Linked DNA regions of Homo sapiens: regions 1 and 3 are each linked to region 2. The links are contacts of gene promoters, found by promoter capture Hi-C in human tissues and cell types (Jung and others, 2019). All regions are on one chromosome and are shown on one strand. Each heading gives the region's core, a stretch centred on a gene start or on the middle of the fragment in contact. The rest is flanking DNA. Distances are from core to core; before and after follow the strand shown. Region 1 overlaps RNF182 (ring finger protein 182). Region 2 holds the start of DTNBP1 (dystrobrevin binding protein 1). Region 3 has its middle 48 kb from the start of CD83.

Evidence for each region. The method cuts DNA at HindIII sites, captures the fragments that hold promoters and counts their contacts. A contact is called where the count stands out against the background at its distance.
Region 1: a contact is called between a fragment that was not itself captured here and the fragment with the promoter of DTNBP1 in region 2, in 1 of the 25 tissues and cell types used here (dorsolateral prefrontal cortex).
Region 3: a fragment that was not itself captured here is called in contact with the fragment with the promoter of DTNBP1 in region 2 in 1 of the 25 tissues and cell types used here (dorsolateral prefrontal cortex).

Annotation. Positions count from the first base shown.
Region 1 is chr6:13,956,915-13,960,511 of GRCh38, forward strand. The region is part of intron 1 of RNF182 (ring finger protein 182); the gene reads left to right. Among named protein-coding and RNA genes, the nearest start is that of RNF182, 34 kb to the left of the region's middle. The HindIII fragment of the contact is 5,227 bases long and covers 1-3,597 here.
Region 2 is chr6:15,660,708-15,664,277 of GRCh38, forward strand. DTNBP1 (dystrobrevin binding protein 1) reads right to left here and starts at 2,321. Exons shown (of 10, transcript NM_032122.5): 1 at 2,107-2,321. The coding sequence starts at 2,162. RefSeq lists an enhancer at 1,528-1,577 and a silencer at 1,808-2,317. The HindIII fragment of the contact is 6,257 bases long and covers 1-3,570 here.
Region 3 is chr6:14,163,884-14,167,195 of GRCh38, forward strand. No RefSeq gene overlaps it. Among named protein-coding and RNA genes, the nearest start is that of CD83, 48 kb to the left of the region's middle. The HindIII fragment of the contact is 4,942 bases long and covers 1-3,312 here.

The DNA.
Region 1 (3,597 bases), core at 81-2,580, 1.7 Mb before region 2:
CCCCCCACCATACACACACACCCAGGGCAGTACTAATCCCTTTGTTCTACATCTTCACTAGTAAATCACCTGTCCACTGTGTGACCGAATGGAATGAAATGCCACACAGTTTCCACACCAAGGAATCTGTCAGAGGTATTCAAACTAGAGTGACTCCATCTTGCATAGGTGCCTTTTGGGATAGAGTATTTAGAATGTCTGTCACACGGCAAAACTACTTAATATACAATAAATATAAAACTATCTTTCCTAGCAATCTTCTTTTTATGTAAGTATCATTTTGTCTCATTTAAAAAACACTGCAGGCTTTTACTTTATCCTAATCTTCACAGTTGAATATATGTCAATCAACAATGCCACATTATGTGGCTGTGTTGCAAAGTGACACATTCATTAAGATTGATTCTAAAAGGCCTATTGAGAAAAGCCACTGAGGGCAAATAAATTCAATAAAATTTAATCTATAGTTCTTTTTCTTCTTGTCAAGCTTGGATTAAGTCATGTATTAAATGTGGTAGAATATAGAAAGTTTTTAAATTTCCTTTTAAAACCTTTTTGCCCATTATTAATTGAGGCATTTCATTAATTGGATTGGTGACATTTTTGCTGAGTCCGAGTACGGTTGGACCTTGGTGAACAGAAATCTGCTTCATCTCATGAGATGTTGTAGCCATTTTTATTAATGCTGGAGAAGAGATGGTGTATTCTTTAGAATTATGGAAAGTGAGCAAAACGTTTTGGTTTGTGACTTTGTTTTTATTTTAGGATAATATTATAAAAATAATACCTTTGTGGCTTTAACTGTATTTGTAATTTTTAGAACACTGTGAATACTGAGATATTGTAGTGATAACTATTTTGCTAGTATGTAAAGAAACATTTGTGGAAAATTTAAAAGCCTTAAGGACAAAGTATACTTCTTCAGGTTGACATCTGGACATTTACAGAGAAACAATCCTATGAGAATTTTATTCTCTGAATTGTATTAATAGATACTTTTGGTGAGCCTAAACCTGAAGCTGATTGTGGACAAATATTTATCAATTGGAGATTTTAAATGATGAAGACAAAGAATGGAATTCTTTTATTTTTTCAACATGTATTGAGAGCTTCCTAGATGCTATGACTTATAAGTCTTTTATGTTTTTTTTAATGTTTATAGATTTCTTGGGAAGTTCATCTGATTTGATATTTTTATGGACATTTTAGAATGTTAAATTTATAATCTGTTGGGAGGCCGAGGCAGGCAGATCACGAGGTCAAGAGATAGAGACCATCCTGTCCAACATGGTGAAACCCCGTCTCTATTAAAAATACAAAAGTTAGCTGGGTGTGGTGGTGTGCGCCTGTAGTCCTAGCTACTTGGGAGGCTGAAGCAGGAGAATCGCCTGAACCCGGGAGAGGGAGGTTGCAGTGAGCCGAGATTGCACCACTGCACTCCAGCCTGGCAACAGAGCAAGACTCCATCTCAAAATAATAATAATAATAATAAAATCTATAATCTGAAAGTCTACATTATAAAATGTGTAGCATTCAAGAATATTTATCAAGACAAAGTGCTGACTTCACCACACTCAGAAGGGTGTGGTATACCATTCATGGATAGGAAGAGGTGGGAGGAGTCTTGGAGACATTTCAATATATTTATATGGCAGGTATTTATTATCTACTCTGTGCTAGCTTATGATAGGTGCTTGTGCTAGAATGGTAAGCAACATATTAGTGGTTCTTATATTCTTATAATTTACATTTTAGTAGTAGAAATTTAGAACAAACAAATAAGTTAAATTGGGCTTCTTGAAGTTTGTTGAAGGAAGTAAACAGAGTGCCATAATAGAAAATAAGGGGTAAGGGATTTTGAAAACGAGTAATTGGAGAGGACCTCCTTGAGGACTTCATATTGAGATCTGCTGTGGTTTTGGATATTTGTTACTTCTAGACCTCATGTTGAAATTTGACTAGATCTCTCATGAATAGATTAATGCTCTTCTTTGGGGGTGAATGAATTCTTATTCTTGTTAGTTCCCTTGAGAGCTCATTGTTAAAAAGAGCCTGGCACCTCCCCTGTCTCTTGCTTCCTATCTTGCCATGTGATCTCTGCAGATATCGGCTCCCTTTCATTTCTTCCCATGGATAGAAGCAGCCTGAGATCCTCTTCATATGCAGATGTCCAGTCCTGAACTTGCCAGCCAGCCAGAATTCTGAATCAAATAAACCTCTTTTCTTTATAATTTACCCAGCGTCAAGGTATTCCTTTATAGCAACACAAAACAGACTAAGGCAAGATCTCTAAGAAGGAATGAGATTAGTATGACATTTCACATTGAGCAAACAGCCTAAAACATGAAAGACTTTGTACTGTTCATGGAACTTAACAAAGGCCAGGGCGGCAGGAAAACAATAAGTTCAAGACAGGGTTGGAGGGAAGGCAGAGGCCAGATTATACGGTACCTTGCTGTGTAGAGTTTGGATTTTAATCTCTATGTAATGAAAAATGATTTAAGTGTAATAAACGGATGGTAGATATAATCCCATTTACATTTTTAGAAGCTTACTTTGGTTATTGCAATGAAAATAATTTATAGTGGGGCAAGATTAGAAGCATGAAGATAAATTAGAAGGTTCTGCAATGAACAAGGTCAAAACCTGGATTAGGATGTTGATGATGAAGATGGAATGAAATTGGAAGATTGGAAACATACTTTGGTTGAATTGACTGGCTTGCCAATGGATTGGACATGAGGAGTGAGGTATAATGTAGAATCAAAGGTGACTCCTAGTTTTTGAAAAACTGAGAGAATGGTGGTGCCATTTATTAAAATGGGGAAAACTGCAGGAAACAATTTGGTGGTAGTGAGAGGTGAGGGTTGAAATTTGTCTTAGACCTGTTAAATTTGAAGTGTTTGTGTTAATACAAATGGAGGTACTGTAAGCCCTCTGGAACTCAGAGGGAAGGGATAGGCTGCAGACACAAACTGGGGGGCAGTCATCATGTCATGATATTCAAAGCTACTGGAGGAGATGGAACAATCCAAGGGAAAGAGTGCAAGCAAGGGCTAGGGAGTTCTAACATCTAGAGATTTGATAGAAGAGGAGCTGGCAGAAAAGATTGAGAATAGTGATCAGTGAACTAGGAGGAAAGCTGGAAGACTGTGATGTCATGGAACCTGTGAGAATAGATAGTTTCAAGAGTAAGGGTATAGTCATTGGGAAGAAGGTGAAGGACAGGTGAGACAAGGTGAAGACAGAAAAGGATCCATTTGCCTTTACAATCAGCCTCTGCTTTCAGGAACCTTGTCTTGATTGTCTTTGCATCCCCAGCATCTTGCACATGGTATGACACTTAATAGATATTAAGTAAATGCTTGCTGAATTATTAAATGAAAGTGATAATATATCAAAAGAGGGCTACATCATGAGTCCATCAAGAATTAAAACCTAACTTGGCCAGGTGCAATGGCTTATATCTGTAATCCCAGCACGTTGGGAGGCCAAGGCAGGAGGATCACTTGAGGCCAGGAATTTGAGACCAGTCTGGGCAATATACCAAGACCCCGTCTTTACAAAAAACAAACAAACACAAACAAAAAACCAAAC
Region 2 (3,570 bases), core at 1,071-3,570:
GGTTTGTGCCCCAGCAGTCCAGAGCCCACTCCAGAATCTACATTCCGGGGTAAAATGCCTTCTTACAAAGGTCAGGAGCATGAATGCTTCTGAGGCAACCATGTGACCTAGAGTTATAGTAACTACAAGATGGGCTCTTGTGCCATCAAGGAATTCCATGAAGTACTAACAGGAGAATAATGGCCACTCTCATGCTACAAATGGGCCATTTCAGCATCACACCAAAAAGTTTTCAATACAATAATTTACGCTCTGAAAAGAAGGTACTTTTACTAAATAGGGAGAACAAAATGCAAGCACGCAAGCACACCCATCAGTGAATGACTCCGAGCGTCCATAACTTTCTAAACACCAAACTAACAAAAATGATTGACGCATGGTAAGTGCTCAAGCGTTTGACAGTTTGTTATTCAACGCCCAATGTGCAAATAGTATTAACATTTTTGTCCATTAAGATAAAATTTTGGCTAACATCTTTCTCATTAGAAATTTAAAACGAGGCTGGGCGCAGTGACTAATACCCATAATCCCACCACTTCAGGAAGCCTAGGAGGGAGGATCTCTTGTACCCAGGAGTTGGAGGCTGCAGCGAGCTATAATAGCGCCACTGCGCTCCAGCCTGGGCAACAGAGCGAGAACTTGTCACTTTAAAAAAAAGGGGGGGAGGGTGGGCCGGGAACGGTGGCACACGCCTGTAATCCCAGCACTTTGGGAGGCCAAGGCGGGAGGATCACAAGGTCAGGAGTTCGAGACCAGCCTGGCCAATATGGTGAAACCCGTCTCTACTAAAAAATACAAAAATAAGCCGGGCGCCTCTAGTCCCAGCTACTCAGGAGGTGGAGCCAGGAGAATCGCTTGAATCCGGGAGGCGGCGGTTGCAGTGAGCCGAGATCACGCCACTGCACTCCAGTCTGGGTGACAGAGCAAGACTCCATCTCAAAAAAAAGGGGGGTGGGGGGGAGAAATTTAAAACAGTATGAGTGGAAATGTTCTCACATTCAGTGCATCCTCCAACAGGATTTGTAAGCTAAAGTTGAAAGATCCTTTTCAAAGACAGATCTTTTTCACTTTAAAGGAATGAAAAAATTAAAATTAAGCACTAAGTAACAATACTGACATGATGCTTGCTTCGTGTTTTACACATTAATTCATTAATCCTTGTAATAACCTTTTAAGTACCATCATTATCCCCATTTTACGGTAGCGGAAACAGTACATTGAGGCAAGGCAGCTGAGTAACTACGTTTGATTTAGTGGTCGAGCCAGGATGCCTAGGCAATCTGGCGCCAGAGTCTCGGCCTGTGGTTCCCAGGCGTTGGTGCCCACTGGAATCCCCTGGGGATCTTTAAAACGCCGTCTCCAGGCACTCTGGTCAACAGGTAGGGGGTGAGACCTGGGCATCAGAACTCTGAAAGGTTCCCAGGTGATTCTAAGCAAAGTTTGGGAACCGCTGGGTATTAAAAGCATTCCTAAAGTTCTGTCGCTTCTCCTGCTTAGGAGTTCCTTCGCCGAGGCGCTGAGCTCACGGCAAAGGTAGAGAAAGGACGCAACGGGGAGGGGCGGCCAGCCTTGCCAAGGGTTAGGCCGGCGAGCCGGGCGTGAAAGCCGAGACGCGGCGCGGAAGGCTGTGGCCGGAGGGTGCAGGCTGCTGCGCGGTGCGATCCGACTCGGGGAGGGTGGCTGGCCCAGCTCCAGGTGCGCACGAGCAGGTGTCTGCTGGGCCGAGGGGCGCAGGCCACTGTGCCGCGGGGGCGGAAGCGGTGAGGCGCGCTGGCTTCTCACATGACTTCCCTCCAGGGCCCAGCTGATGCTGCCGGGAAAGGACCGCAGGGTCCCACACCCCCCCCGGGCGCTCCGCTGCGCCGCCGAGCGCCTCCCGGTCCTGGGGGGTGCGCGTCACAGGCGGCCCGCAGGGACCTAAGTTACTTTGCGCCGCCCGACGCGAGGACGCCGGGAAGTTCGTTACTTTCCTCGGCGGGGCGGGGCGGGGAGGTGCGGGACAGGACGGACCCTGGACCGTGGCGCGGGGAAGGGAGCGAGGCAGGGGCATCCCAGGCGGCGGCCCGGCCCCCTCAGGTCCCTTTTCGTCGCCCACCGTATACCCACCCGGAGGTGAAATCCTGCTGCACGCTCAGCAGCCGCTCGCGAAGGGTCTCCAGCATTGCCGCCGCCGCCGGTCTCCTCTCCTCAGGCCTCGGGCTGCTGCTGCCTCTGTCGCCCCCTGGGTCCCACGCCGCCAACCCCGCGCTGTCACCGCGCGCCCCGCACTCCCACTACCGGCCCCGCCCCCGGTCTGGTCCTCGCCGCCGCGCCGCAACCCCAGCCCCTTCCGCGTTCCCGCCCCGCGCGCGCCAGGCTCGCGCAGCCGCAGTGGACTGCGCCGGGCTCGGGCTGCGGAAAAGGGGCGGGTCTTCCCCCGACCGAGAGGGCCAGTAGCTCCTCGGCTCATTCCTATCCCGCACCAGGCCTTCTCGTTTTTTTTTTTTTTTCTTTAAAATGGAAGCGGCATCGTGAAAGGATGATTTAACTCGAAGCCTCCTTTGAGGGAAGTGTTGGCTTTTACGTTTTGGAAGAGAATTGGATCTCTCTCTTCAATAGGCGATGTGCACAAATCATTGCATGGATTCTAGGTCCAGGATCTGACCCCACTGGCTTTCACCTTGAATGAGACAGTCAAATATTGAGCCTCGGTTTCTTCATTCATAAAATGGCAATAATAGTCGACTGTCTCGACATTCTTACTTTCCACTCTCTCTTTACCCCCCCAGGCTTTTGTGCCCTACACACCAAAGGTGATCGCCTTTCGCGAGTCACCAGTGACTTCCATGTTGCTGATGCCTTTTATTACTTCTCTGCCCTGATTTTTTCTCCACCTCTCAGTGGCTTTCAATGCAGTTTATCATCCCCATCCTTAAAACACTTTCTTCTCTTGCTAAGCACTCCATAGTTCCTCTCTCCCTTCCGCTCCACCCCTTCTCCTATTTTAATAGCCACTCCCAAGGCTACAGTCCAGCCTCCCCAGCTCTTCTCTCTTCTCCAGATGTGTTGTTCCATAGATGGATAGCATAGAGTCTATCCATTACCACGCTGTAAATTCTGTCAAGGAACCGATGACTCCCACAGCTCTATCTTCTGCCCTGTCCTTCCTCCCTCTCCGTCAATTCATACCAGTTGCTTACTCATGTAAGCATGTATACAACATGTATCCAAAAGGCATCTCAGACCAACATACACAAAATTGAAAATTTCATTCATTGCATGTTCACCTTTAATCTGCTCATCCTGTATTTTCCGTTTCAGTAAATGACACCACCATCCACCAATTTGCTCAAGGTAAGACACTTGAAATCACCTCTGGTTCCCCTCTTTTCCTCATTCCCCATATTAACCCATCAAATCCAATCAACTCTACTCCTGAAGTATTTCTGGAACCTCCTTCTCTTTCTATATCTTCACTATATTTATCCTGGTCGAAGGCACCATCCTCTTTCAATGGGAACACAGACAGTTCTTCCAGATTCTACTCTTTTGCCATACACACCCCTATAATCCATCCTTGACACAGCAGCC
Region 3 (3,312 bases), core at 172-2,671, 1.5 Mb before region 2:
TGAACATCTGAATTTTCAGAATTCTCTTCTCACTGTGGGCATAAGTGGCTAAATCTTGCTCTGAAATTCACAAAACAAGGTGGAGGCACTCTAATTTCTGATTCATACCAATGGCCTTGAAAGCCCCTAACTCAAGGCCTTGAAAATGCAGGGGACCCGTTTATTAACTGTGTTCTGAATAAATGAACTAAGAAAGTGATGTCAGTGTCATTTCCAGTGATGATAAAGTGAAAACACCCTTGCGTATCCTGCAATAATATAGCCTGGTTTAATGTTTTGCTGGTGGTTCTCACAAATAAGTGACAGGTGCAGAATAGATGTACAAAATCTTAAAACAATTTCTAGACTTGAGAATCATTGTCTTTGGATCTATACACATAACTGAACATGCTTTCAGTGGTCTCTTTTGAGTCTGGTTCTTGATAAACCTGTGGGGTCCCTGAACTAACAGTGGATACTCTCTTCCTCTGGACACCTGAACACGAGAGTCAAGTTTCTGCTACTTGCAGACAAAAGCTTCTTCACTGGTGTGACGTACTGAATTATTCTCCCCAAAATTCATAGGTTGAAGTCCTAATTCCCAATGTGGCTGTATTTGCAGATAAAGCCTTTAAAGAGGTAATTAAAATTAAATGAGGTCATAAGGCTGGGTCCTAATCCAATAGCAGTGGTGTCCTTATAAGAAGAGGAAGAGACCCAAGGATGTGCACACACATAAAAAAGGTCATGTGAGGTCAGGGAGAAGGGGGTCATTTGCAAGCCAAGGAGAGAGGCATCAGGAGAAACCAAACCTATTGACACTTTGATCTTGGATTTCCAGCCTCCAGAACTGTGAGGAAATGAGCTTCACTGTTTTAAGCCATTCAGTATATGGTGTTTTGTTATGGCAGCTGTAACCGACTGATACCACTGGTAACCCCACCTTCGTGACTTTCTTGCCTCTGTTGGAGTTACAGGGGCTTGACCTCCACTTTAGGCTGTTGGCATTAGACTTTCTGCATACGAATGAACTGAGATTCATGACACAAGGGAGAAACCAGGGCCTGGCCCCTGGCTAAAGACTAGGTGATCCATATATGCTTATAGACTATACAGAGAAGAAACTAGTGGGGAGGACTTCATAAAGGGGCCTCTGGAGCTTCTGAAGAAGCAACCTCATGTCTCGATCCAAAGAATAAAGCAAAATTTCAAGGAAGGATGGGAAGTAAGAGAGGTGAGGCAATAAGGGAGAGTAGAGGTGTCTCAGAGGTCATGACGAAAGTGGGTGAAAAACTTCGGAGGTTTTTACTATGAGTGGGTGAGCTAGCTAGTGCCCAGAAAGAAAAGGCAGTGGAGCTTGGAGAAAAGGAATTCTGGTGGCTGGTCTATAAAGGGATCCTGGAGTCTAAAATCATTGTTACTGTGAAACCACAGGCTTGGCATGAGATTTGAGTGTGAATCACTCAAAGGAGGGAGCAAGGGTTACACTCATCTCTGCCAGCACAGAAGCTTCAATTTTCTCTGTACAAGGCCCTGCTTAGTAAAAAGCCACTGAGCAACCCTCCATGTAGCTTCTCATTTTCCCATGCCCATCTCTGGGCATAGTGATGATGGACAGCAAGGGGGCCAGAGTGGCCCAAACACTGGAGAAAAGACCATATTCTACACCATCATAACCACCCTGTTCCTGACCCCAGGGTAAAAACATTAGCAACCAAGGTAGAGAGAGGCTTTAGTTATCATCAGGGCTGTCTTCTTCCCTCATTTTTTCTCTGGCTTACCCTAAGTCATTTCATGGAAGATGCCTGCCCAGGATTTCACACTTCATCTTTCATATAAAATAAACCTAGCTTCATCCTTTAAGGAGTTATCCCCACCTGTTTGCTGTCCTTCCACTTTCCATCCTTGCCAAATTCTCTATTTGCTCCTTTTTGGAATCCTTCTGGTTGCCCCAGCCATGACTGCTGACTGCCCTTACTGCCAAATGCAGCCTTCACGGGCAGTCTGTGTTGTTCAGCTACTTGGAGGAGTTTCTGGGGGGAAGGTCAGCCAGCTGTTTTCTCCACACCAGGAGAGGTTCCAGCTCTGAAGTCATTTTCCTTATGCCACCAACTCACCTGGCTTGCTTTGCAAACACTGGCTGCCCTATTTCATGGCATTGAAATGTCATGAGCCATACCTTGTGCCCTTCAAAGCTGGCTTCTGATGCTTTCTGCATTTGATGCCTTATCTGTAGAAGCTTCACATGCCCTTGGCATTGTTGCACCGTGGCTGAAAACACTGTCTTGGTATTCCAGAATACTTTGTGTCTCCTGTAACTAAACACAGATAAGATTGTCTAATTCTAGCATCATAAGGAAGGATGAAAGAACATAATTTAATAAGAAATGAGTTTGTTAGAAAGAAAGACCTGTTAACACAAGAAGCACAGTCTCGTGTTAAAATGAAGGTAGGCCGGGCGCGGTGGCTCACGCCAGCACTTTGGGAGACCAAGATGGGCAGATCGCAAGGTCAGGAGATCGAGACCATCCTGGCTAACATGGTGAAACCCTGTCTCTACTAAAAATACAAAAAGATTAGCTGGGCGTGGTGGCGGGCACCTGTAGTCCCAGCTACTCAGGAGGCTGAGGCAGGAGAATGGCATGAACCTGGGAGGTGGAGCTTACAGTGAGCCGAGATCGCGCCACTGCACTCCAGCCTGGGCGACAGAGTGAGACTCTGTCTCAAAAAAAAAAAACACAAAAAAACAAAAAAACAAACAAACAAAAAAATGGAGATGGTGGAGAATTTGAGAAGGCTTTCTGGAACCACAGAATTTGCTGTAGTTTCTTAACATCTGAAAGAATAGTTTTAAAGAAAGATAAAAATTGCCACATTAGGGGAGAAATTCTATATATATAGCAGTTTTAAAATATGCATTTGTTTGCACACACAAGTATGAAACCTCTTGGGTTCTTCTTCCTACAATTGCTTTCTATTTCACTCTAACTCAACAGCTGTAAATGGCTTTGGTAAATCATGCTAGTACATTTCCATTAACATTAGCAAAACTTATGTCAACTGCACTGACAACAACTGTCAGCCTTGAAAGACCCTAATCTTCTCTTGCACAGAGAACACACATCTGTGTCACACCTACGGTTTCTCATACATCACGGAACCATTTGTCTATCTCGTTTCCACTTTGTTGTCCTCTGGACTCAGAAGGCTCCTTGCTCATCAATCAGCTTTAGTGTCAACAGGGTGTATTCTGACTCCTTATAGGCTCCCCTGGTTACTCCCTCCTCTGGCACAGCTGGCTTTTTATATCAGTGAATGAGGTTTTCCTTGCAG